Regions from separate parts of the Homo sapiens genome. Here all the other regions are linked to region 7. Evidence: promoter capture Hi-C in 16 types of primary human blood cells and fetal thymus (Javierre and others, 2016). All regions are on one chromosome and are shown on one strand. Each heading gives the region's core, a stretch centred on a gene start or on the middle of the fragment in contact. The rest is flanking DNA. Distances are from core to core; before and after follow the strand shown. Region 1 overlaps LOC100506023 (a long non-coding RNA gene). Region 2 overlaps PRDX6-AS1 (PRDX6 antisense RNA 1). Region 3 overlaps PRDX6-AS1 (PRDX6 antisense RNA 1). Region 4 overlaps LOC100506023 (a long non-coding RNA gene). Region 5 overlaps RABGAP1L (RAB GTPase activating protein 1 like). Region 6 overlaps PRDX6-AS1 (PRDX6 antisense RNA 1). Region 7 holds the start of DARS2 (aspartyl-tRNA synthetase 2, mitochondrial).

Region 1 (3,423 bases), core at 179-2,678, 420 kb after region 7:
GGCTGCTAGATAACAGATGGCATTTCTAGGGTGAAAAAATGGCCAGATGATGCCAGACAAGCACTCAGGTATCCTTTGGCCTAGTCTGGAGTGTTACTCAAAGTGTGGTCCATGGACCAGCAGCCTCAGTTATCACCTGAAAACTTGTTAGCAATGCAAATTCTTGGGCCAGGTGTGGTGGCTCATGCCTGTAATCCTGGCACTTTGGGAGGCTGAGGCTGGAGGGTCACTTGAGCACAGGAGTTTGAGATTAGCCTGGGCAACATAGGGAGATACCATCTCTACAAAAAATAAAAAATTAGCTGGGTATCGTGGTGAGCACCTGTGGTCCCAGCTACTCAGGCAGCTGAGGTTGGAGGATCACTTGAGCCTGGGAGGTTGAGGCTGTGGTGAGCCGTGATTGTGCCACTGCACTCCAGCCTGGATGCAGAGTGAGACCCTGTCTCAAAAAGAAAAAAAAAAAATGCAAATTCTCAGGCCTCACCTCAGACTCCCTGAATCAGAAACTCTGGGTATGAGGCTCAGGAGCCTACAAGCCCTCCAGGGGATTGTTTGAAAGCCACTGGCTACTTTTCTGTCCTTACAGATTTCTGGCCCAAACTCACCCTTCTCTGCCATGTGCCTAAGCTATATGATGGGGTCATCAAGGAGCTTCATTTGCTGAACATGGTGATGACCTTGAAGCAGGATTGATGAGAAATAGTGCTCTGGGGAAAGGTGAGATTTGTACCCCTTTTCCAGTTGGCTTAATACGTTCCATCTGACTGATGAAGGTGGGATACATGTCAGTGCAGAGCATGGCCCAGGGCATATTACAAAATTAGGTCAGGTGTGGAAATAAAGGGAACTTCAAAATCTGAAATTATTACCTCTGGTTGGGTTTTGGTTGTGGCAGGATGTATACACAAGCTGGGCTGTGACAGCAACAGTATGGAGTCCCAGAAGCTCTACTGTGGTTTGTGAAGGCTGAGATTTGAAAAATCCTCTTGCAAGGCACAGAAGGCCAATTAATAGTAGGTGAAGTGGCTTCTCCAAGGTCCTATGGCAAATCAGCCTATGGTAAGTACAGGTATTATTATTTCTGCCTCTCAGGATTGCAGATGTGTTGTACCTTTGGCTGAGGTGTGGGAAGAATAACTTAGGAATGCATCTTTGACCTAGGGTAAAAGAATAGACATTTATTTGCCCACAACCTGCTCCCAATAGAAAGTTTCTGAGCATAAAAAAAGAAGCTTAGGATTTGAGGCCAATGGTTAAAAATATCATTGTAAAGAAGCCATGAATTTTGAAGACATATTAACAACACAAGTGCAAATGGAAAATACGAAACTGACAGAGAGCTCTAGCTGGCACAAACTTTACACTGGCCACATAACAAGGCAAAAATAAGGATGATCTAATGTCTGACAAACCATTGCCCATATAAGATAGGACATTAGCAGCATTTTTCAACAAATGGACTTGTTATTAATGACAAGCCTTTCCCAAATATATAGTTGTATTAACCTGAGTTCTCCAGACATATATGTATATGTGTGTGTATATGTATGTATATGGGTGTGTGTGTGTGTGTTGTGTATGTGTGTGGAATTGACTTATGTGACTGTGGAGGCTGAGAAGCTTCATGATCTGCTGTCTGCTAGCTTGAGATACAGGAAAGCCAGTGGTGTAGTTCAGTCTGAGTCTTGAGGCCTAAGAAGTTGGGGAGATGATGGTGTAAGTCTCAGACCAAGGGCAGGAGAAAACAGATGTTTCAACTCAAGTGGCCAGGCAGAAGGAGTGAGTTCTTCCTTTTTCCACCTTTAGGTTTTTTCATGTCCTCAACAGACTGGGTGATATCAGTCCTCATTGGGGAGGACAGTCTGTAGATCCAAACACCCATTTCATCTGTAAACACCTTGACAGACACACTCACAAATAATCTTTGGCCAAATATCTGAGCTTCTGTGATCCAGCCAAGTTGACACATAAAATTAACCATCACAAGTCCACCCCTTGCCAACTTGATACTCATACGTGCCTCCTGAAACCATACTTAACCTCCAAATAAAGATGATAACAAGTTCATAATTCCACATGATATTACTATCCTGTAGACAACAAAATGTATAACCTTTTTCCCAGAAGAGGAGTTAAAGCACTTGAGTGAGGTTTACCCTTCTTGAAATCTTATAACTTAAACACTACGATGTAAAATTAACAAAACTTAAATACTACGATTAAACAATACATTTTATGTTATATAATAAGGGAGTAAGAGAGGAAAGAAAGCAAATATATATGTATATATATATATGCACACACACAATTGTATTCATAACAAAATAAGGAGGAAATAATCATGACAATTAGAGTCCTTGTTTCTGTAAGTAGTCATGTGGTCATTGCTGGCATTTATAACTACTTTCTATCACTACTTATTCGTATTGCCTTTGCCTTCAGCAAGTTTCTCAGTTGGTTGTGATTCTTTTCCTGGTGAAGTGACCCCAACTTCATTAGTGAGGCATCTGGGCCATTAGTAGTTCTGTCTGGATTGTGCTGTAGTTTTCCACTGACCTAATCACAGGGCAGAGTAATAGTAAGAGATGCCCCCAGGGATCTCCTGTATGAGAGATATACTCTTCCTTACTCCATTGTGAGTAGTAGTTCATTTTCCCTTGGGAGTAAAGATCAATCACCCCAGTCAGCAAAGGAACTCCTTTTTTTTGTCTGTTGATTCAGAGGCATGAAGAGCCCAAAGTGGCCAGGTGGCAGTTTTAATTTCCAATTCAATGGAACCATTGTTGTTCATTGTCTCCTGGTTGAAGCATTTCTCCTTTTGAAATTAAGACCTCTAGGCAGGCAGAACATAAAGTTGAAGGAACAGGAAGGAAACATTTTACTGGTGTAACTGGAGTAACAGTAAGAGGTGACACTCCTGTTCCTATCCTTTGATTCCTGGACCTGAGAATCCTGGCTATGGGAGAAACAGCACTATCTATTCCTTGCTGATTCAGAGCATATATAGTTTTCTGGGGGAGTCTTGCCCAGTTCTGCAGATATTGCCACCTAACTAGTGCTATAATTGAGTCTTCAAAAGACCATTCCAATATTCTGTCAAATCAGCTGCTTCAGGATGGTGGAAAACACGGTAAGACAAGTGAATTCCATGCTACACTTTATTTGCTGTGAAGTGAGTTCTTTGATCAGAAAAAATGCTGTGTGAAATGCCATGACAGTGGATAAGTCATTCTGTAAGCTTATGGATGGTAGTTCTCGCAAAAGCGTTGTGTTCAGGGAACACAAATCCGCATCCAGAGTGTCTATTCCAGTAAGAACAAAACACTGCCCCTTCCATGATGGAAGCCATCCAGTGTAATCAGTCTGCTACCAGGTACCTATCTGATCACCTTGGGGAATGGTGCCATTATGGGAACTCAATGT
Region 2 (3,762 bases), core at 905-3,404, 390 kb after region 7:
GAGAAGAAACATTTTGTGTGCTGCTGAGTCATTAGGAATTGACCATTATAGGTAGTAAATAGCAGAACAGAAGAAAGAAACAAGACTGATCATGAAATAATTGGAGCGAGGAGTTCTGCTGACTGTAACAATGTAAGACATTTGCATGTACATTGTGTGGTTGATTAGGAAAGAAGCTCTTTGTTCTGAAATGTCTTCATCAGTGAAAGTTGAAGAGATATGCTCAGCTGGGATACAGTGAACTCAATCTACTCCTCCAGGACTGGATCTGCAGAACTCAGATCTACCTTCCATGACAGCTTCTGGCCGTTGGCATACAGAGCTCTCCTCTCTCTCTGCACGTAGCTTGTCACTCACTCAGCTTGTATTGATGGGGTGGGGCAGTCTCAGATTGTTTTATAGGTGCAATTATTTAACTTCTTTAGATGAGGGTTGTGCTTTATGTTACTCTCTGAAGCCTCATTTATTTGCCACATGGTGGGTACATGAAGATACATGCTAAATGAAAGTTGTGCAAAGAGCTCTGAACTTGGAGGCAGATGACCTTGGACTTTTACTCAGTCTGTGTTACACATGAGCTTGGATAAGACTGATCTTTCAGCTTTCTTCAGACCTTAAGCATGAGATATAAAACAAGTAGAACATATAAATAAATAGAAGAAAATATACACAAATATTACATGATCTTTGAATTGTAAGACTCACTAAGCATAAATGCCACTGAAGAAACCACAAAGAAGAGATTTGCCAGTATGGAAAGCTTTTTAATTCTATATATCAGAAAATATAATAAAATTAAGAGGCAAATGACCTATTGAGAAAAATACTTCTACTTGGTAAGTCGAAGTATAGAAAATAAGCAAAAGATACAGTTCACAAAGAAAAAAATACAATCAGCTGATAAATATATGTGGTCAAAGAAGTACACTTTAAATCTACAGTGAGATACTTTTTAATCAGCTCAAATTTTCAGGGGGACCCATTCAGTCTTATATGATGCTGGTGGAAGTGGAAATTTCCTGGAGCAGTGTGTATTAAGAGCCATAAAAATGCTATTTCCTTGAAGTTAACAAGAAACTTGCTAGACCTGTATGAAGGATGCCAACTTAAAACAATTTATAAAATGTATTTATTTATTTTTTTCATGTTGTATAGGTTTTAATGTTTTTGAAACAAAATTAACCCATGGTAGACTTTGGTGGACAATGTGAGTCTTCTACCTAGATACTCTCTAATTTAGTCAGGGTTTAATTAAAGAAATAGAAGTACTAGGATAAAAATGTATTTGTTTTTACTGGGGGACATACCATGTTTCTGAATGGAAAGATTCAGTTTTGTAGGTATACAAATTTTCCCAAATTAATATTTAAGTTTAGTGCAATTCCAATAAAAAATTCTAGTGGGATTTTATTGGGGAGGGGCAGGTGTGATGGGAATTGATGATGTGATTTTAATTTTTCTTTTATGTTCTGAGTAAAACATTTTCTTGGGGTGCAGAAAATTTTATGATGGAAGAATAAGAAAACTAAGAATATTTTGAATAGGAACAATAAGTAGGAAAAATGTTTGCAATGGGATATTAATATGTATTATAAACCCACAGAATCTGAAGACAAGAGTGATGGACTGTATATAGATGGAACAGAATAGAGTGACCACATATGAACCCTAGTGTATGTGGGAATTTAGCATGTGATAAAAATGAAGAAAAATACAGTGAGGCAAAAGGTGGTTTTGGGTCAATTGAGAATCAGTTTGGGAAAAAGTAACAATAGATTTTTACCTAAAAGAGTACAAGAAAACAAATTCCAAATGGAATTAGTTAAATGTGGGAGAAGGACACTAAAAAACTTGAAAATAAAGATGAATGCCTATATAATTTTGTAGTGAGAAAGACCTTTGTAAGTACAGAAAAGCTGTAAAGGAAAAGACTGATAGAACTGGTTATATAATAACTTAAAGCTACAAACTAAATTAATAAGCAAATAATTAATAATAAGCTATTTACAACAAAAAAATTAACAAAGTTAAAGTACTTAAAAAAGAAAAAGCCGAGAGACCTTGTCTGGCCACCCTCAGGTTGGGTAATTCACAAGAATGACACACAGTACTCAGGAAAGCAGTTTTATTATGCTTACAATTTTATTATAGCAAAAGGACACAGATAATAAAATCAGCAGAGGGAAGCGACATAGGGCAGAGCCTGGAGGGGTCCATGCACAGGGCTTCCCATCTTCCTCTCTCTACAGAGTCATGGATTGTGTTACCTCCTGGTTACGATGTGTGACAATACATACAGAATACTGCCAACCAGTGATGCTCACCTGAGCCTTTGATGTCCAGAGGGTCAAAGCCCTCACCATAAATCACATCTCTAGACTGGTGGCCAAAGCCCTCAGGCCAACAAAGATACTCATAACACGCTGGGCATTCCAGGGGCCTAGAGATCACCTCCCGGTAGCCAAAAGCCCTAAGTTAATTCTTCACTACACAGAAACCTATCATTTTATCCCTATCAAGTTGACAAAGTGTACCAGATGCCATCAGCGCTGGGACACATTTCTGGACATTTCAGCGCTCCCCATTAGATTTCTAAGGGCAGTATTTGCAACTCCATGCCTGAGGGCTTAAAAAAAAATGCTGAAGGCCCTGTGCCCTTTTCCTTAAGTAGCCCTCACTTGGCAGTGGCTCACACCTGTAATCCCAGCACTTTGGGAGGACAAGGCAGGTGGATCATGAGGTCAGGAATTCAAGACCAGCCTGGCCAAGATGGTGAAACCCCACCTCTACTAAAAATACAAAAATTAGCCAGGTGTGGTGGCAGGTGCCTGTAATCCCAGCTACACAGGAGGCTGAGGCAGGAGAGTTGCTTGAACCCGGGAGGGAGAGGTTGCAGTGAGCCAAGATCATGCCACTGCACTCCAGCCTAGGTGACAGAGTAAGACTCCGTCTCAAAACAAAACAAAACAAAATGGTAGCCCTCACTTAATGACTTTTGGAGTTGTCATGTAAGACCTTAGCCCTTTAGGTGGGATAATGCTGGGGCATTTTGTATTATTTCCCAGAGTTTCTCTGCAAGATTAAGTTCCAGTTGCCCACTGTGATAGGTGGCTTAGTAATGCACCCTTTATTGGCTGCCTTCGCTTCTGGTTACTTCTTACCCATATCCATCCCTCTGTATTTCTGTATTACTCAGATAAACTGCCTGCACTTGAATCCTTGTCTCAGTGTCTGCTTCTGGGAGATAACAAACTAAGACATAAAATTTAAAATGAAATTCAGAGGTGGCATGAGTACATGGAAATAGATGTTCTTCTCTGCTCCTTTGTGGAGTGTAAATTGGTTCAACCTTTTTGGTGGATACTTGGGAAATATTTATCAAGTAGCTTTAAAATATGCATAGTCTTTAACTTAGTAATTCTACTTCTGAGAATGTTTCCTGAGAAATAGCTATGGATGTGTACTAGGTTTTCTTTTCTGTTTTCTAAACAATAAACTACTTTGAAAATGAGGAAAGGACACTAAATGACATTCATGGGTAAAGCTTTTATGTCTCATTATATTAAAGGTAGGATGCAACAAATAATTGACTACAGTTTTTCTTTCATAAGCAACTATTAATCTTTAAAAAACTTTCCTCAGAGGTAGATTAACTTTTATTGAATATAGCTGTTAATAAGAAATTTTAAATTGATTGCATACTGTATTAGTTGGCTTGGGCTGCCATAACAAAATACCATAGACAAGGTGTTTTAAACAACA
Region 3 (3,835 bases), core at 1,288-3,787, 370 kb after region 7:
TCTCTGTTTCACCTCTTCTCTTACTTCTGAATGTTGGTGTGTCTCAGGAAGTTCTCTGGCTCTTTTCTCTATCTGTAGTTTCTCTGGAGATGATATCTAGTCCAGCGCCCTTAAATAACATATATATGCTGTTGATGCTAATTTTTATCTTCAGACAAGCTCAACATTTGTATAGCCATCTATCTGCCAATTTGACACCTTGATCTGAATATGTCACAGACATTTGATATATATTCAAAATTTAATTCTTAATTCTCTTTCTTTCTAACCACAACAAACTCATTCCATCCACAAATGAATATACTATTTTCCCTTTCTCTTTAGAAGGATCATCCTGATTCCTCCTTTTACTCCCCTCCCACAGGAGCCTTAACACTAAGTCCAAGCGATTCTATCTCCAAAGCATATATTGTAACTGTTCGCCTTTCCCCATCTTTACTCCTAGCCTCTATATTCAAGTATGCTTATTATTAATTTATTTCCTCTTAGTTCCAAACTACCTTTCTTTGTCCTACTTCACGATACTGGAGATGTACACTGCAAACTACATTTTTTTCTCAGATATCTGGCTTTATATTAGGTTCAGCCAATTAGGGGCTAAGGGAGTGCTGAAGGGATTCTCAAAGTTGGAGAAGGAAAAAGAGATTTATCTTCTCCTGTTATTTTTGCCTTCTCCACATGACAGTGAATGGGTCAGCACATACCTGGCCCCGGCAGTATTCCTTGTGGTGGTGAATTGTTCCTGTGGTTCCAGCAAGTGAATGTCCCCCGGAGGTTTCTTCTTCACCCCAGCAGTGGGTGACATGTTTCTGCACCAGCTGAACCATCTCCTTAGAGGCCCAAATGTTAGTCTGCTGGAGTCCTTTCTCTCTTTCTAAGTTTCCTCCTTGTTTACCTTTCCTTTCATCTTAAGAGTGATAGCTGTAGTCTGAGGTTGCCACCTCTATTACACCATACAATTCTCTTTTATCCTTTTTAGTGGTTAACCACCTTTTTACCAAGTTAACAGTTCTTCATGATTATACTTTCTTTATTTGAATTACTGTGTGGTTTCTGTCTCTTGACCGGACACTGGACTCTTAACGGCAGTAGTGATCACTGCAAGGACTGTAGCATAGGATGGATATTTCTGAGTGTAGTGGAGTGCTTACAGACAGAAGATGAAAAGCTCAGGTCCTTAAGCTCTTGGTTTAGTTCTCGGTCTGAGAACTAGAGGACTTCCATGGCAGCCCTAACAGGATCTTTTATGTCTTGTAGCCACAGGGTTGGTATTGTTAAAAATTAAACACAAAATTTAATTTTACAGGTTGCAGAACTACAACATCAGTAATTTTCTTGGGAAATTAATGCCAAGTTTCTCATGTGAAAGTTAGGTCATTGATTGGGAAGGAGACCCCAAAACTTGAAATGGGCACATATGGTTGGTCTCAAGTGAGAGTGAGAATCTTGAACCCCTGAGTTGCTCTGAGTCTCCCTTGCCAGTGGGAGTATCTTGCTCTTGTGTATCTGCAGAATTTTTTTCTCCCCTCAAAAACCCTGTAATTGCCTCTCCTGGAGCAAATACTTCACAAACAAGAGGATGCTCACTCTCCTCGGAGCCTACCTGAAACACCCGTTACTGCTGCTAGACCCATAACTAGGGTCAATTGTCATCATATTCCAGTGGTGTGGAAGTGGCAGCCAGTCTGTGAATATAACTCTGGCCCTGAGTCCCAAGTTTGCCCCTTATTCCAAAGAGTCACTGTTTGCTATGCAGAGGAAGTATGGGCCAAGATAACCTCACCAAACACCGGGTTCCAGATTCTCAAGCAGTCCCTTTCAACACCATGGTTTCAAAAAGTAAATTTGAGAGGTAATTTTAAGGCTCTTACATAGAAGAATTCTCCCCAAAGAAACATATCTATGGTGATTATTGTTCAATTCTGGACCTCTCAGCATTGTTTCCTTGCTTTGTCACTTATAAAATAAATATACTTCTAGCTTTCTGGCTGTATGGGTGATACATGGCATAGAAATCTTGGGTGGGAGAAATGGGGTGTCTGGCAGGGACAGCCCCTTTCTCTGAGATTTGTTCTCCTGAGCTTTCTGAGTGCTGAGTCATTTTTAGCAAATGGCTGCATTTTAGCTGTTGAAAAAGAAGATCTCTCTTCCAAGGAGAAGGAATGTGGGCTTGTCCTAGTCTTTAGATACTGAGCTCAAGTGTCCCTAAACTAAATTGTTTCATTTTACAGAGGGCTAGACAATTAAAGTATATAAACAGAGTATTTACATGTGTTATATAGTCAGTAACGCTGTTTCCCAAGAGTCCCCATGGGCAGATAGGTTTATTTTACAATTAACAATCACAACCCTTTGTGAAGTTTTGATTGGCAGATTAGAAGCCCAGAATTTACTCTTACACCTCTGGGGTTTTTGTGTGCCCACTTAGGTATGAAGTCAGTTCTTGTCAGTAAGCACTCAGCTTTCATTTCCATCTCATTAGCTGAGAGTACAATCCCACTGAAAACTCAACTGTGGCTTGAGGCCTAATGGGCACCTGTTAATTTTCCTCTGTTCCATAGTCCCATCTCTCAGATCAACAACCTGATCATAAAGGTAGGTGATAAAGGTAGTTACTCATAAAGATGTGTAACTAATTCACAGAGAAGCATCTCTAGTGGAGGATAAACAATTGAAAGTACATAATTCTGGCCAGGCACAGTGGCTTATGCCTGTCATCTCAGCACTTCGGGCGGCTGAGGTGGGTGGATCACCTGAGGTCAGGAGTTTGAGACCAGCCTGGCCAACATGGTGAAACCTCATCCCTATTAAAAAAAAATACAAAAAGTAGCTGGGCATGGTGGTGGGCACCTGTAATCCCAGCTACTTGAGAGGCTGAGGCGGGAGAATCGCTTGAACCCTGGAGGTGGAGGTTGTAGTGAGCCGAGATTGTGCCATTGCACTCCAGCCTGGGTGACAAGAGTGAGACTCTGTCTCAAAAAAAAAAAATTTAATTAGAAAAAACAAAGTACATAATTTTGTTTGGAGGCGCTGAGAAGAGATGATATTGGTGTTGCCTTTTTATATAAAGTTAGGTATTTAATATTTAAGACAATTTACAAAGTTAAACTTTGTGCAAGGTGCTGGTATAAAGCATTGATGAGTTTATAGTGTGATGTTCTTTTCCCTGACTTCTTTTCCTATATTTGCTCATTTGTCATTCCATTTTCTCTAAACATTTCTTCTTTACTATTTTTTCTCTTACATTATTTAAGTGTGTTACAAAAATAATTGTTGTCTATTGAGATTCAGCTATCCCAAAGCAGGAAGATATGGATTTTGAGTACTTCTTATAGCCATGGTGGGCTGCACTCCTGCATTTTGCCTTTGCCACTAACAGCACCTGCTTATGGGACAGTTAGAGGCATGGGAGTAGTAGAAGCAATGCTAGGTGCCCTACCGAGATCAATTCCATAATGTTAGACACTAAGCTGTAGCCATCTGCCCCTTCGAAGTCTATCTTTGTCTTGCTCCAGCATTAATTAGTACAATTCCTACTTCTCTCTGAAACAATTTTAGTTTTAGGTCATTCTCTCTGCCTAGCTACCTTGCCCATATGAAGTCTGGAAAATTTCGTTACGCAGAGGTGTGCCACCCAGAAGAAAATGGTTCGGAGTGGCTCCATTAAGCATAATCTGAAAACATAAAGCCATGTATTTACGATTAGTCTAGAATGAACTCTTGAGGGTTGGGGACTCTGGCTTTGTATTTTCTTGTGGCTGCCTAGCACATTATGTTTTACTTGCCCAATAAGTCTGTTAATGCTTACTTAATAAATACCAACAGCCATGAATAA
Region 4 (3,280 bases), core at 292-2,791, 350 kb after region 7:
CTCACTGCAGCCTCAAGCTCCTGGGCTCAAGCAGTCCTCTCACTTCAGCCTCCTGAGTAGCTGGGACTACAGGCACATGCCACCATACCTGGGCAATTGTTTTATTTTTGGTAGAGACGGGGTCTTCCTAACCTGTGTTGCCCAGGCTGGTCTGAAATTCCTGGGCTTAAGTAGTCCTCCCACCTTAGCCTCCCAAAGGGCTGGGATTACAGGCTTGAGCCATATTTACCATGGTGTTATAATTGCCTACAGTATTCAGTATAGTAATGTGCTGTGCAGGTTTGAGGCGTAGGAGCAATAAGCTATACCATGTAGCCTAGGTATGTAGTAGACTATACCATCTAGGTTTGTGTAAGTGCACTCCATAATGTTCACACAATGACAAAATTGCCTAATGACACATTTCTCAGAACATATCCCCATCGTTAAGTGATGCATGACTGTAATTAGAGCTAGGTAAAAATCCCTGTACCAATGGGAGGAGACATATAAAACTAAAATTAATGTTAGGATGGTGAGATTGTGTTTTTTTTCAACTCTATAAACTTTCTTGTTAGATTTGATTGTCTTTTCAGAAATAAAGAAAGCTTGGGCACAGTAACCTGTACATATCATTAAGGCAGTCCTGTCAACCTTCAGTGAGTGGGGCTGATAATCTCTCCACTGCTTTTCTTTATCATCGTAATAGTTCGTTTTCATGATGCTGGTAAAGATATACCTGAAACTGGGTGATTTATACAGGAAAGAGGTTTAATGGACTTATAGTTCCACATGGCTGGGGAGGCCTCACAATCATGGCAGAAGGCAAGGAGGAGCAAGTCACATCTTATGTTGATGGTGGCAGGCAAAAAGAGAGCTTGTGCAGGAAACTCTCATTTTTAAAACCATCAGATCTCGTGAGACTCATTCAGTATCATGAGAACAGTGCAGGAAAGACCTGCTTCCATGATTCAGTCACCTCCCATTGGGTTCCTTCCATCACGTGTGGAATTGTGGGAGTTACAATTCAAGATGAGATTTGGGTGGGGATACAGCCAACCCATATCATTCTGCCCCTGGCCCCTCCCAAATCTCATGTCCTCACATTTCAAACCAATCATGCCTTCCTAACAGTTCCCCAAAGTCTTAACTAATTTCAGCATTAACTCAGAAGTCCCCAGTTTAAATTCTCATCCAAAACAAGGCAAGTCCCTTCTGCCTATGAGCCTGTAAAGTCAAAAGCAAGTTACTTCCTAGATACAATGGGGTTACAGGCATTGGGTAAATACCGCCATTCCAAATGGGAGAAATTGGCCAAAACAAAGGGGTTATAGGCCCCATGCAAGTCCAAAATCCAGCAGGGCAGTCAAACTTAAAGCTCCAAAATTATCTCCTTTGACTCCATGTCTTGCATCTGGGTCATGCTGATGCAAGAGGTGGGTTCCCATGGTCTTGGGCAGCTCCACCCTTGTGGCTCTGCATGGTACAGCTTCCCACTTGGCTCCTTTCACAGGCTGGTGTTGAGTGTCTGTGGCTTTTCCAGGCACACGGTACAAGCTGTTGGTGGATCTACCACTCTGGGGTCTGGAGGATGGTGGCCCTCTTCTCACAGCTCCACTAGGCAGTGCCCCAGTAGGGACTCTATGTGGGGGATCTGACCCCACATTTCCTTTCTGCACTACCCTAGCAGAGGTTCTCCATGACAGCCCTGGCCCTGCAGCAAACTTCTGCCTGGATATCCAGGCATTTCCATACATCCTCTGAAATCTAGGCAGAGGTGCTCAAACCTCAATTCTTGACTTTTGTGTGCCTACAGGCTCAACACCATGTGGAAGCTGCCAAGGCTTGGGGCTTGCACCCTCTGAAGCCATGGCCCAAGCTGTATATTGGCCCCTTTTAGTCATGGCTAAAAGAAGCAGCTGGAACACAGGGCATCAAGTGCCCAGACTGCACACAGCATGGGGACCCTGGGCCTGGCCCCTGAAACCGTTTTTTCCTCCTAGGCCCCCAGGCCTGTGATGGGAGGGGCTGCCGTGAAGACTTCTGACATGCCCTGCAGACATTTTCCCCATTGTCTTGGGTATTAACATTTGGCTTCTTGTTATTTATGCACATTTCTGCAGCCAGATCGAATTTCTCCTAAGAAAACGGGATTTTCTTTTTTATTACATTGTCAGGCTGCAAATTTTCTGAACTGTTATGCTCTGCTTCCCTTATGAAACTGAATGCCTTTAACAGCATCCAAGTCACCTCTTGAATGCTTTGCTGCTTAGAAATTTCTTCTGCCAGATACCCTAAATCATCTCTGTCAAGTTCAAAGTTCCACAAATATCTTAGGCAGGGGCAAAAAGCTGCCAGCCTCTTGGCTAAAACATAACAGGAGTCACCATTTCTCTAATTCCCGACAAGCTCCTCATCTCCATCTGAGACCACCTCAGCCTGGATTTCATTGTCCATATCATGATCAGCATTTTGGTCAAAGGCATTCAACAAGTCTCTAGGGAGTTCCAAGCTTTCCCATATTTTCCCGTCTTCTTCTGAGCCCTCCAAACTGTTCCAACCTCTGCCTGTTAGTCAGTTCCAAAGTTGATTCCACATTTTTGGGTATCTCTTCAGCAGTGCCCCACTCTACTGGTGCCAGTTTACTGTATTAGTTCATTTTCACACTGCTGATAAAGACATACCTGATACTGGGTAATTTATATGGGAAAGATGTTTAATGGACTTACAGTTCCACATGGCTGGGGAGGCCTCACAATCATGGTGGAAGGCAAGGAGGAGCAAGTCACATCTTACGTGGATGGTGGCAGGCAAAAAGAAAGCTTGTTCAGGGAAACTCCCATTTTTAAAGCCATCAGGTCTTGTGAGACTCATTCACTGTCACGAGAACAGTGCAGGAAAGGCCTGCCCCCATGATTCATTCACCTTTTACTGGGCTCCTCCCGTGACCTGTGGAACTTGTGGGAGTTAAATTCAAGATGAGATTTGGGTGGGGACACAGTCAAACCATATCAATCATGTTTAATGTTGTCATTATATCTACTACTCCCTATTATATCTACTACAGGACTTCTACAATCTGGAGAGAAATCAAAGTAGGAAATGTAGGAGTGAAAATGAAAGACAACAGCTAATAAAATGCTACAATGAGAAATAACTCTCAGAGGGATTTTGGAGTAGTAAATTATTATTGTTATTATTTGATTCAGGACCTCACTTCACCCATGCTGGAGTGCAGTGGCATTAACTTGGCTCACTGCAGCCTCCAACTCCTGGGCTCAAGTATCCTCTGCCTCAGACT
Region 5 (3,780 bases), core at 492-2,991, 390 kb before region 7:
ACACCCAGCTAATTTTTGTATTTTTTGTAGAGACGGGATTTCCCCACATTGGCCAGGCTGGTCTTGAGCTCCTTACCTCAAGCAATCTGCCCACCTTGGCCTCCCAAAGTGCTGGGAGTACAGGCTATGAGCCACCACGCCTGGCCCTTCTTTTTCTTTTTCTTTTTTAGGAACACACCCTAAAAATCAGATAACCTTAAATTTACATGTCTAAAGGAAAAAATAGGTAAATTTAAATCGGGTCTATTATGAATATCATTTAAAAGGTTATATTTCTTGTTAGCACAGCATAACCATATTTCTGATTTCTTTACAAATTGTTGGCTAGCTCCCAAGATGAATATTGCTAATTTCCTTACACTTAAGTTGACTCATAGTTTTCTCAAAGGCAGGTGAAACACAAAGCCTAAGCAAATAAGTGATGTCTTAAACACAATAATGCTAAAATACAGGTATCTAAAAATAAAGCCACTGATTATTTAAATAAAATTATAAAACAATATATTCTCAACATAAACATTTAGTAATCTCATTTTCAGAATATATTTTATTAGACTGATATATTAATACACTTTTGATGCCATAGTTAATACTAAATAAAAGTCATAAGTAATATATAGCACTTTTAACTACTTTTCCTATTCCTGTTTCTAGAAGACAGTTATACCATTTTCAAGCCTATATAACTGAGTTTACTTGCTTCCTTTTCTTTGACTTAGAAAGTGCAACACAGAAGTGAAAAAGGGACCATATCTAAATAAAAACTCAAATGCTAAAAATATAAGATATGCTTTAAAAACATTTAGACAAGTCGACTGTTAAATCACACAACGGAACGTTACCAGCTGATTTAAAACATAAAAATCATAAAGAAAAAAGTCTCTCAAGTGAAAGCAAAACATTTAATTAACTTCTAAAACCCAGCAGTAAGAGAAACAAAAACATCCAGATAAAGTAATGTAAAATTTAACCATTATGTCTAATTCACCAAAAAATCCTTTCTCTTCTTTTTCTTCTTTTATTCTTCCCCCTAAAATTCCAAATCAAAAGGTAAACAACCAAAAGCAAGAACTTTTTAAAATACACAAACCAAATAATTAGGGTCTGGATAAATCAAACATTGATTTTATTTTGAAAGTCAGCACTTGAGAAAAACCTTTGCATTTTACACATCTCCTAAGTTTCAAATAGTTTTTAATTAAAAATTATACCATATGTAGAAAAGAAAAAAATACCTTCAGTTGAGGTTTTTCTTCATGTTTTGTAGAATTATCATCTGCATACTGAGGAACCAAAACAAATTCTTCACTGTTCATTGTAGCCACAGAATCAGATGATCCACTAACCTTCTGTAATGAAGCTCTGACCTCCATTTCAGTTCTGCAAACTTCTCTTCCCACAACCACCTGGAAAAACAAAAGGGATTAAAAAAAAAAACCTACTGATTAAAAACATGAACTAATTAAAAACATGAACTAATAAAGCTTTAAAAATGGTTTATGTGAAGAAGAATCCTGCTGGCTAGATAATTATCTCAAAGTTAGGGAGGCTACCTTCTTGGACTGAGCCACTTAATGGAAATGTACTCTCTCTTCATCCTAAGTTTCCAGACTAATAGAGCCATATTGTTACCTAAAAATTTACACAAACCAGTCCATATCTCAACCAGATTTATCACTGTTTACCTGACACACTCACTCTCATTTCTCTTAGAAATACTGTTTTCTTTTTAATAGAGGAAATAATTAAATGATACTAGAAATACCTACAAATGCACACACAGACACAAAACCATATTCACTGACACTGCTATATTAATTAAATCTAAATGCTTCAAAAAAAAACTTATCTCCTCAAGACCGAATATTGTACCTGCAAATATTTTTTCTGAGTAACTAAAGTTGACTAATACAGAATTCAACATCCTAAGACATATAGCTTCTCTTTCCTGACACATTATCACTTATTAACACCAAAAAGAAAAAGAAAAAAGCTTCTATATTGCCTTCACGTAGCAAATAATGTTTCAGTAATCAAACACAGTGTAATTCTGTTTTCTGGATAGATCTCTACAGCATAGAAACAACACTCACTATCATATCCAGAAGTTCATGTACTCACACAACTAAGTTTAACTGCAGACATACACTATATAACAGACACAACTCAGCCCTGAGGTTACCTAAGTGAATAAGGAAAACAAGTAGCCTGCACTTCTGGGGCTTACATACTAGTAAGAAAACAAATAAAAAGGGAGCAAATGGTGATTCCAAGTCACTCTAAAGGCTATGCAAACAATAAACACGTTAATGTGACAAACAGTAGCTATGGGAAGTATACGGACAAATTAAGGTGGTAGGAAAAAGCTCTCTGAGAGGAAAATATCTGAGCCTAAACCTGAAAGACAAAAAAGAACCCTACTATTACACAATCTGCTCAGTGACCAAATGAGTAATGTGATAGAGGGGCAGGACAAGCAGGCTAGGGCTAAAGAACACGGGACCTTGTAAGCCATAGTAAGTCTACTGATCCATGCCTAAAATCCCCCCAGAAATGTTATTTTTCTTTCTAATTAGGTTACCTTTTCATTATAGCCTATAAGTATAGCTGCAATATTCCATTTTGCCATTAGGTGACACTAACACCATTACTCTTGGCAATAAAAAGAATGAGTCTAGCTTCAAGTTACATGTGTATCTTTTAAAAAGTAATTACTTTCCAACTTTATAAAAAATCAAAAATTTCAAGAATATCAAAATAAAGAATAACCATACTCCTGGACCAGTGTAATTAGCTAGCCATCATTTATTTCTGTTATGCATGTTAACACCCTTCCTTTTTAAAACCCAAGCGACATTCATCTGTCCTCTGAAGGTTTTTTTCTCACTTTGTATATTTTGTTTCTAAAAATGCAGAATGTGTTACAAGCCAGGTCTTTACTCTTCCAGACTGCACGATGAATCCTTAACTGCCAACACACCACATATTCCAGATGTCTTTCTGTGGTCAATCCTTCAAGTCCTTCTCAGGTTGCTGCTCCTCTACCTGATTTCTAAATGTTAGAAATTCCCTGAGTTCAGATCCTGACCTTTTCCCTTGTCACACACTCTAAGTAATGTCTGTCATTGTCATGGACGAAAATACCATCTGCAGGCTAACAGTCTTCCAAATTTCTATCCCAACTCAAATACCTTCTCTAAATTCCTGCCCTGAAATTCACCTCTCTACTTGATATTTCCATGTGGAAGTCTTATCGTATCTTAAATGAAACATGACCAAAATGGAATTCCTAATGTCTCCTCCAAACTTGTTTCCAGTCCCGATTTGCCATTTCAGTAAATAACACCACTATCTTCTACAAAGTTACTTGAACACGAAACCTGGATATCATCCTTGATTCACCTCCACTTCTTTACTCCTCACATCAGCAAGTCATGTCAGACCCACTTCCAAAATAAGACTCACATCTATCCATTTTTCTGTCTACTACTACTACCACTCTAGTCCAAACAATGCTCTTATCTACTGTAAAAGCCTCCTAACCCATCTTCTATTTCCAGTCTTCTTCCCTCAATCTACGTCATTGTTCACAAAGCTGCCAATTTATTTAATTTTTTTTCGGAAAATAAATTAGATTACATGAAAACTCCAGACCAAAACCTTTTCACTAAAATTTAAATAAAATTCAAACTGCTTCCCAAGACTTACAAGGCCCAATACACCCTTGCCCCCATCACTTTCTCATTATAATTCCTTAATCACACAAGTTCCAAAACAAGC
Region 6 (3,683 bases), core at 563-3,062, 410 kb after region 7:
TATGTCCCTAATGGTGCGTGGGACATATGCTAAAACATTATTTGTTGTTTATCTGAAATTCAAATTTAACTGTGCGGCCTATATTTTTTCTGGCAACCCTAAATGCGGGCAGGGGCAGTGGTGGTGACATGTAGGGATGGTGTGAGGATAAAATAATACCACAGTTAGGTTTTATCGCAGTGTGTAGTCTGTGTGTAGTCAACACATAACTATAAGTAGTGACTGTAACATAACTGTAACTGGTGCATAGTAAAAAACAAATGGATATTATTAGTATAATAGTTGTTATTAATAAAGGTCTTTAAATGACAATTGGCCATACAGGAGCCTTTGGGGAAAAGTTTCTGACTCTAAATTAAGGGAAGGTAAATTATGATCAAGATCTGGGAATAAGATTTAGACTTACACAGTAATAATTTGAGGAAGAGAAAGACTTAGTAAATTAGTTATGTAATTACATAATTAACAACTTGGGAGGTTTTCTTTACACGTTTATTCCCTAGGGCATCATCTTTAAATTATATTTAGTTTTTGCTAAGTTGACCAGTTTGTGGTTTTAAGTGTTTACTTTCTTTTCTTTTGAAATGTAGGGAAAGCATATTTGACATCATCTTAAAGAAATTATGTAGCCATATAAAACCGGAGGGTAGGGTCTACTGGCCAGGAAAAAAAAAGGCCTTTACTGCCACCTGGTGGCCATATTCTTTAACTGCAATGTGCCTAAGTGAGGCTGGAAAGGAAAGCGTTGGAAAACATGCTAAACCCAGAGGGCACCAAGGCCGCGTCATGACAGTAAGAGCCGTCAAGTACTGTGTCCTTTCCCTCAGTTCTCAATCTCTCACAGCTTGAGGCTTGAGAATTAGCAGCTGGCTACGAGAGGTGGAGGAGAGAAAATGGTGAAGTCCATGCCTTCCTCCTTGGTACCGAGTTTCCAAACCTGAAGTGAAGGAGTCTGAGAGGGGAGAAGCTTCAGGTTGAGTAGACTGTTTTTTACTTTTTTTTTTGTTTGTTTGTTTTAAAGAGCCTCTTTATTTAATGGCTCAGAGTGGCTAGAAAATCCGTGGTATTGGTTAGCTTTCATCTCAAGTGCAGGGACAAGGCAAATCCAGAGAGAGGAGTTGAAAGGACAAAGAAAAAAGAAAAAAAATTGCTTTTTACGTGCATTTTGCTGCATGCAGCTCACTCAATAAACATGCGTTAAATGCATAAATATATCATGAGGTAAAAATCGGGGGAAAGGTGATGCATTGATGCTGATAGAGGACAGGCAAACTGCATTCCATTTGGACCGCAGCCTCTCATCCCCCCCCCCGCCACACAAACTAAGGTCAAAATCAGGGAGGGAGTCCAGGGTAAAGTTATCAGTAGAGTCAGCTCTAGGAGCTATAGTTAATCTATTTTAAAAAATCTTAAAAAACCCATAAGTCCATTATAGCAGGGACATAAAGCAGTCCTAGCCTCCTGACCCTGACCCAGCCATGGCAATCAGGGCTGCTTCCTTTTATTCTCCCTTGTGTCCTCATGGGTCTTTCCAAGCCCTGCAGGGAAGGGTGGAAGCTGGTTCCATCAGTGCCTCTCCCCCAGCTTCCACCCTCCTCTCTCTTCTGTGACCTCTCAGTTTTCCTTCTCTGTACCCCAAATCATGCCTGTCTTAGTCCATTGCTGTAACAGAATTCTACAGACTGGATCATTTATAAAGACAAGAAATTTATTGCTTATAGTTCTGGAGGCTGGGAAGTCCAAGCACATGGTGCTGGCATTTGGTGAAGGCCTTCTTGCTGCATCCTCACGTGGCAGAGGGCATCACATGGCAAGTGGGCAAGAGCAGGCTTGTCCGCTTGGGTTACTCTAACTCTTCTTTTTTTTTTTTTTTTCTGAGACGGAGTCTTGCTCTGTCACCCAGGCTGGAGTGCAGTGGTGTGATCTCAGCTCCCTGCAAGCTCCGCCTCCCAGGTTCAGGCCACTCTCCTGCCTCAGCCTCCCAAGTAGCTGGGACTACAGGTGCCCGCCACCACACCCGGCTAATTTTTTTGTATTTTTTTGGTAGAGATGGGGTTTCACCGTGTTAGCCAGGATGGTCTCGATCTCCTGACCTCGTGATCTGCCCGCCTTGGCCTCCCAAAGTGCTGGGATTACAGGCGTGAGCCACAGCACCCGGCCAGGTTACTCTAACTCTTCTTATAAAGCCACCAGCCCCACCGTGGGGGCCACACACTCATGGCCTTATTTAATCTTAATTACCTCTCAAAGGCCCTACCTCCAAATGTCATCGATATGTGAATTTGGGAATTAAGTTTCCAGCACATGAAATTTGGGGGTCACATTCAAACCATAGCAATGCTTAACCTTAGAATACTGCCTGGCATCTGCCCAGGCTTCCACAGCCACTACCTCTGGGACATGTTGGGATCTCTGTTTACATGTAAGGCTCGCCATGACCATTACACATCTGTGAGTCAGTGTAGGGTCCTGGTGGAAGCCCGGTCTTGGAGTCCCTCCATTATGTTTGCTACCCTGGCTCTCCACCTTCAATTTCTGGCTTCTCATTTTGGACTATGATGATTTTCTTGTTGTTAATTTTTTTTTTTTTTTTAGTATGAAAGTTTTCAAGACGCCTACAAGTGGAAAATGCACTCCTCCCAGCCAAATCAAGCTTCGCCAGATTCCTTACAGCTGTGTGCAGTGAAATGACTAATGAAAGAGCCCTCTGCTGCTGGTGGAACTTTCACATATGGCACTGTTATGCCACTCAGCAGGACCCGACCCTGGTATTTACATATTGGATGTCACCCCAAAAGCCCCTGACCAGGGGGTTTCCGGGATGTAATAAGAATGCCACTCTGGGCTTTGGAAGGTGCACCGTATGCACACCCATACTATAGGGCAGGGGTTAGCATTTCAGACCCCTGTTCCTCCCTTGACAAGCAAGTGCTTTTCTCCAGGGAAGACGTTCAGGTTCATTCATAGATCCATTGGTGCCGTGGGCAGCTCAGTAACAATAGCTCTGCTGCCTACCAGCTGCTGGTGGAGGTGTTGAGAATACCTAATGAGGAAGTCAGGGCCCCTGCGTGCTTCAGCAGAGCTGGATGCCTGGCATGGCAATCAATGGACACAAACCTTTGGATAATTTCCGTCCTTGGCGGTGTGTTCTATAGCATAGGTATGAAGTGGGTGCTCTGGGAGCTCAGAAGAGGGGCTCTTCTCTTAACTTATGGGTGGCCAGGGAAGGCTTCCTGGAGCTCAAATGACTGAGTGGAGTCTTCAACATTAAAAAAAAAAAAAAGAAAAAAAAAGTGCTTCCCTCCCACCCCCAGTTAAAAAGGTAATACACCTCATTGAAATAATTTAAACTTTACAGAAATGTGTTCCTTTAAAGTTCAGAGAGTAAAGAGGAAGTAATAAAGCTGAAATAGTAGAATTTCTAATTAACTGGAGCCTGTAGCTTTCTTCCTGAAAAGGGAGTGGTGTGTGTGCATGTGTGAGTGTGTGTAGGTGAATCTGTAAAGGATGGAGTAGTACTAAAAAGAGGGAGGTGAAGACGGAGGTGAGATCTCATCTTTGTGCCCTGAACCTCTTTGTTATAATGTCAGGCAATGAGAGAAATCAGTACTCACCCTCTATGGGACTCTGGCTTTTTCAAACTTGGTTTTCTAGGTTTTGGTCTTGGTTATTGATGGCTTGTA
Region 7 (3,606 bases), core at 609-3,108:
ATTCATTCACTATTAAATTTACCTGCAAATGTGTCAAAAGCCAAGTGAATAACTGAATGTAAATTTCTGTCTTGTGTTAGGAAATCAAAATTTTTTTGATCTTCTAGCATTTGCATTGACCTAAAATCCTAATTACCCAATTCTTAATATTGCACATTTCTTCCTCAAATGAAATAGGATTTTAGAAACTGCAGAAATGGACGGTGTAGGAACTATTTAGCTTTAGTATGAATCTAGTGTTTAACAGCCACTTGTACACTAGAAAACACTATTATAATTCTGTGAAAAATGATTTTTTTTTTTTTTTGAGATGGAGTCTCGCTCTGTCGCCCAGGCTGGAGTGCAGTGGCGCGATCTCGGCTCACTGCAAGCTCCGCCTCCGAGGTTCACGCCATTCTCCTGCCTCGGCCTCCCCAGCAGCGGGGACTACAGGCGCCCGCCACCACGCCCGGCTAATTTTTTTTTTATTTTTAGTAGAGACGGGGTTTCACCGTGTTAGCCAGGATGGTCTCGATCTCCTGACCTCGTGATCCGCCCTCCTCGACCTCCCAAAGTGCTGGGATTAACGACGTGAGCCACCGCGCCCGGCCGAAGAAGGATTTTTTTAAGGCATCAACCAAAAGCAGAGTATTCTATATATTACGTGGTTACCTTTTTGTGGTCTTTCTAAAAACTCAGGGAAAAAAAACTGCCGTATAATGAATATAATGAGAGTGAATTTCGCTTCTACACATAAGGCTATCCAGTTAAGAACAGGGGAAAAGCCGGGCGCGGTGGCTCACGCCTGTAATCCCAGCACTATGGGAGGCGGAGGCGGGTGGATCACGAGGTCAGGAGATCGAGACCATCCTGGCTAACACAGTGAAACCCCGGCTCTACCAAAAATACAGAAAAATTAGCCGGGCGTGGTCGCGGGCGCCTGTAGTCCCAGCTACTCGGGAGGCTGAGGCAGGAGAATGGCGTGAACCCGGGAGGCGGAGCTTGCAGTGAGCGGAGATCGCGCCACTTCACTCTAGCCTGGGCAGCAGAGCGAGACTCCGTCTCAAATAATAATAATAATAATAATAATAATAATAATAATGGGGGAAAAAATGAAAAATGGAATAAAAGCTCTCCGGCCGTAGATAACAGGCTGAAGTACTGTTCATAGGATAGATCTCTTCGCTATTTTCACCTGGAATTCTCCTCTGTGAACTCTGCAACAGACTTCTGTAGAGAGAACCCCAGATCGGTTGGGTGGTCCTTCTGATGGGTCTGGATAAACCCCTGTACAGCTGACTTAACCAAGAAGGGAAGTACATGTTGGAGCCACACGATGGCGAAAAACAATCACGAAATCCCACGCTGCCGGTAGTTAAAAGTCAGTTTTGGAAATACACAGAAATCCCTTAAAATTCCAGGAGTTCCCACTCTCTTCTCGAATATTTAAGGCCTCCTCCGCACAACATTGGAGTACACGTGTCTAGAAACAAGACAAATCTCCAAGGTCTCTGGGGTGCTTGCTGGGGTGGAGATAAGGGAAAGACCTCTCCCTGAGTCTTAAAGCATCAGTCTGCACTTCTACTCAACAAGTCGGCAGCCAAAAGTGACGACGAGAGAGCGACTCCACGTAGCGGCGCCAGGCGCGAGCCCAAGACAACCAGAGGCGGTCACAAGGTATACGCCCTTCTCCTCTTTCCACGCTTCTCGAGAGGCTCCCGCGGCCAGAACCGGAAAACAAGGAGTAACAGTCGCGTTTCAAATCTCGCAGACCTGCTGGCCGATTTCGAGTCTTCTGAAAGAGGAAGGCGAGCAAAGCCAAAATTCTCCCAGAGCGCGAACCCAAACACAGATCGCCGCTGGGGTCCAAGCGCCCTTCAACTCCGCCCGCTAGTGCCCAAGATTACCGGGAAGGAATTCAACGAATCAGTGGTGAGGTGCCGCCGCCATGCCTACTACGGGCGGAAATTTGAGAGAAAGCTTCGCACCGGTAGGAAAACTGAGGAGCAACCGAGCACGATTGGAAAGGTTGACGATAGTGGTTAAGTGGCTCGGCCTTGCCCTCAGTTAAAATGGCAATTTTAGTTGCTTCACTGATACGGAATCGGCGAGGCGCCAAGGAGGCTTCCTGCGTGGGGCCGCAGAGCGAGTCGGGAAACGATTTTAAACTGAAGAGGCGGCGGAGGGCCGAATTCCCTTTTCTCAACGGCTTGATTTCAGAGCTGGGCTGGTCTCTGACAGGCTCAGCTGGAGAGGGACGGGTTGGGACGCACTGTCCTTTTGCCCTTCCCCCTCCGCGAGCAGAAGCTGACTCCGCAGGAGCGAGGGTCGCAGAGCTGGGTGAGCGGAAATGTCCCTCCCAGAGTGAAGTCGCAGGGCCCGCCCCGCGTCTGAGGGAGCGGAGGTCTTCCTGGGTGCGTTTGTGTCTCTTGTGAACCCACTTGTGGAGCGAGAGGGAATTTGGGAGGGCCAGGGGTTAGTCTGGCCTCTGTCTTAGCTGTCATTTTGGCGGTTTTTTTTTTTTTTCTTCAGGGGATTTCAGTCTCCACATAGTTTTGGAGCCGGACTTTTGAAGAATGATTCGTGAATCCGGAATGGGTGACAGCGTCATCACGGCATTTTATTGGTAAAGATGCTTTGTATTGGTCCCGGACCTGCTTTAACTTTGTATTTGCCCTGTTGTGTGGTCATTATCTTACAATACTTGCGTGTTGAGGTGTGTTTAAACACTACGTGCTTAACACTGGCTAAGTATTGGCATTGGGGCGGTTGGATTTAGGTATTGGTGGCAATGTAGAAAAGTGATCAAGTCAGAGCCCCTTCACGGACTAATCACAAGAGAAACAACAAAGCTTTACTTGTGTGCTGTGAACCACAACTGCAAGTGGAATTGTCAAGAGAACTAGCCCTGCCAAGCTCAGGAAAACTTCTGAGGAGATGGCACATGGAAAATGGATAAGATTTACTGAGACAAACGGGAGTAGAGAAGTGTTTTTAATTGGCGATAAGGTGAATAAAAAGGCAGGGAGAACAGTAGAGTGATCATCTGTCTAGAGTAGGGGGTGCATGTTTGGGTATAGGGCTGTCATTTAACCTCTTAAAGAATTGTCTACTGGAACTTTCTTCACTCCCATCCCCCCACCCCCCAATGTTGTATACAAAACCTTAGAGGAAGTGTATGCAGAATGTTGGATTTTGGAAAGGCTAATGTCGATGGATCTTGGGGAAGAACTGAAGTAGTAGAAAATGAACCTGGATAGGATCAGATAATAAGATCAAATACAGTAGTGCCTTGAAAGCCAGACAGGAATTCTGATTTGACTTCATATAGATGTGTGGGAACTGTTATGGGATCTCAAGCAAGGTAATGATAAAAGTGGTGACAATGAAAGACTGATGATGGATTAGGGAAAGGGGCTAAGATTGGGAACAAGATAAGTAGCTATAATTGAGAATGAAAGTGAAGCCCACATCTAAGAGGACAAGTGTATATCTTTTTAAGAAATATGTCAGAGGCCAGGTGTGGTGGCTTATGCCTGTAATCCAGCACTTTGGGAGGCCAAGGCAGGCGGATCACCTGAGGTCAGGAGTTCAAGACCAGCCTGGCCAACATGGAGAAACCCCATC

What was found. The method cuts DNA at HindIII sites, captures the fragments that hold promoters and counts their contacts. A CHiCAGO score of 5 or more calls a contact.
Region 1: a fragment that was not itself captured here is called in contact with the fragment with the promoter of DARS2 in region 7 in 1 of 17 cell types (total CD8 T cells); the score reaches 5.4 in total CD8 T cells.
Region 2: a fragment that was not itself captured here is called in contact with the fragment with the promoter of DARS2 in region 7 in 17 of 17 cell types (megakaryocytes, total CD8 T cells, naive CD4 T cells and 14 more); the score reaches 31.7 in megakaryocytes.
Region 3: a contact is called between a fragment that was not itself captured here and the fragment with the promoter of DARS2 in region 7, in 6 of 17 cell types (naive CD8 T cells, naive CD4 T cells, megakaryocytes and 3 more). The highest score is 8.1, in naive CD8 T cells.
Region 4: a contact is called between a fragment that was not itself captured here and the fragment with the promoter of DARS2 in region 7, in 3 of 17 cell types (fetal thymus, megakaryocytes and monocytes). The highest score is 5.8, in fetal thymus.
Region 5: a contact is called between a fragment that was not itself captured here and the fragment with the promoter of DARS2 in region 7, in 1 of 17 cell types (fetal thymus). The highest score is 7.2, in fetal thymus.
Region 6: a fragment that was not itself captured here is called in contact with the fragment with the promoter of DARS2 in region 7 in 17 of 17 cell types (total CD8 T cells, megakaryocytes, naive CD4 T cells and 14 more); the score reaches 53.6 in total CD8 T cells.

Annotation. Positions count from the first base shown.
Region 1 is chr1:173,399,895-173,403,317 of GRCh38, reverse strand. All of the region lies in intron 2 of LOC100506023 (a long non-coding RNA gene), which reads left to right. It also overlaps a transcript of TNFSF4 not described here. Among named protein-coding and RNA genes, the nearest start is that of PRDX6-AS1, 60 kb to the left of the region's middle. The HindIII fragment of the contact is 388 bases long and covers 1,235-1,622 here.
Region 2 is chr1:173,435,619-173,439,380 of GRCh38, reverse strand. The region is part of intron 1 of PRDX6-AS1 (PRDX6 antisense RNA 1); the gene reads left to right. All of the region lies in intron 2 of LOC100506023 (a long non-coding RNA gene), which reads left to right. It also overlaps a transcript of TNFSF4 not described here. Among named protein-coding and RNA genes, the nearest start is that of PRDX6-AS1, 24 kb to the left of the region's middle. The HindIII fragment of the contact is 2,784 bases long and covers 763-3,546 here.
Region 3 is chr1:173,452,419-173,456,253 of GRCh38, reverse strand. All of the region lies in intron 1 of PRDX6-AS1 (PRDX6 antisense RNA 1), which reads left to right. All of the region lies in intron 2 of LOC100506023 (a long non-coding RNA gene), which reads left to right. Among named protein-coding and RNA genes, the nearest start is that of PRDX6-AS1, 7.0 kb to the left of the region's middle. The HindIII fragment of the contact is 5,329 bases long and covers 1-3,835 here.
Region 4 is chr1:173,469,502-173,472,781 of GRCh38, reverse strand. The region is part of intron 1 of LOC100506023 (a long non-coding RNA gene); the gene reads left to right. Among named protein-coding and RNA genes, the nearest start is that of PRDX6, 6.2 kb to the left of the region's middle. The HindIII fragment of the contact is 1,904 bases long and covers 590-2,493 here.
Region 5 is chr1:174,216,751-174,220,530 of GRCh38, reverse strand. RABGAP1L (RAB GTPase activating protein 1 like) reads right to left here. Exons shown (of 26, transcript NM_001366446.1): 2 at 1,236-1,406. The coding sequence starts at 1,373. Among named protein-coding and RNA genes, the nearest start is that of RABGAP1L, 59 kb to the right of the region's middle. RefSeq lists a silencer at 1-46. The HindIII fragment of the contact is 509 bases long and covers 1,487-1,995 here.
Region 6 is chr1:173,417,535-173,421,217 of GRCh38, reverse strand. PRDX6-AS1 (PRDX6 antisense RNA 1) reads left to right here. Exons shown (of 2, transcript NR_125960.1): 2 at 2,596-3,429. All of the region lies in intron 2 of LOC100506023 (a long non-coding RNA gene), which reads left to right. It also overlaps a transcript of TNFSF4 not described here. Among named protein-coding and RNA genes, the nearest start is that of PRDX6-AS1, 42 kb to the left of the region's middle. RefSeq lists enhancers at 839-938, 2,697-3,036. The HindIII fragment of the contact is 1,686 bases long and covers 970-2,655 here.
Region 7 is chr1:173,822,925-173,826,530 of GRCh38, reverse strand. DARS2 (aspartyl-tRNA synthetase 2, mitochondrial) reads right to left here and starts at 1,858. Exons shown (of 17, transcript NM_018122.5): 1 at 1,175-1,858. The coding sequence starts at 1,301. CENPL (centromere protein L) reads left to right here and starts at 1,648. Exons shown (of 6, transcript NM_001387287.1): 1 at 1,648-2,319; 2 at 2,512-2,605. RefSeq lists enhancers at 1-476, 1,118-1,635, 1,342-1,901, 1,636-2,154, 2,132-2,371. The HindIII fragment of the contact is 2,471 bases long and covers 1-1,961 here.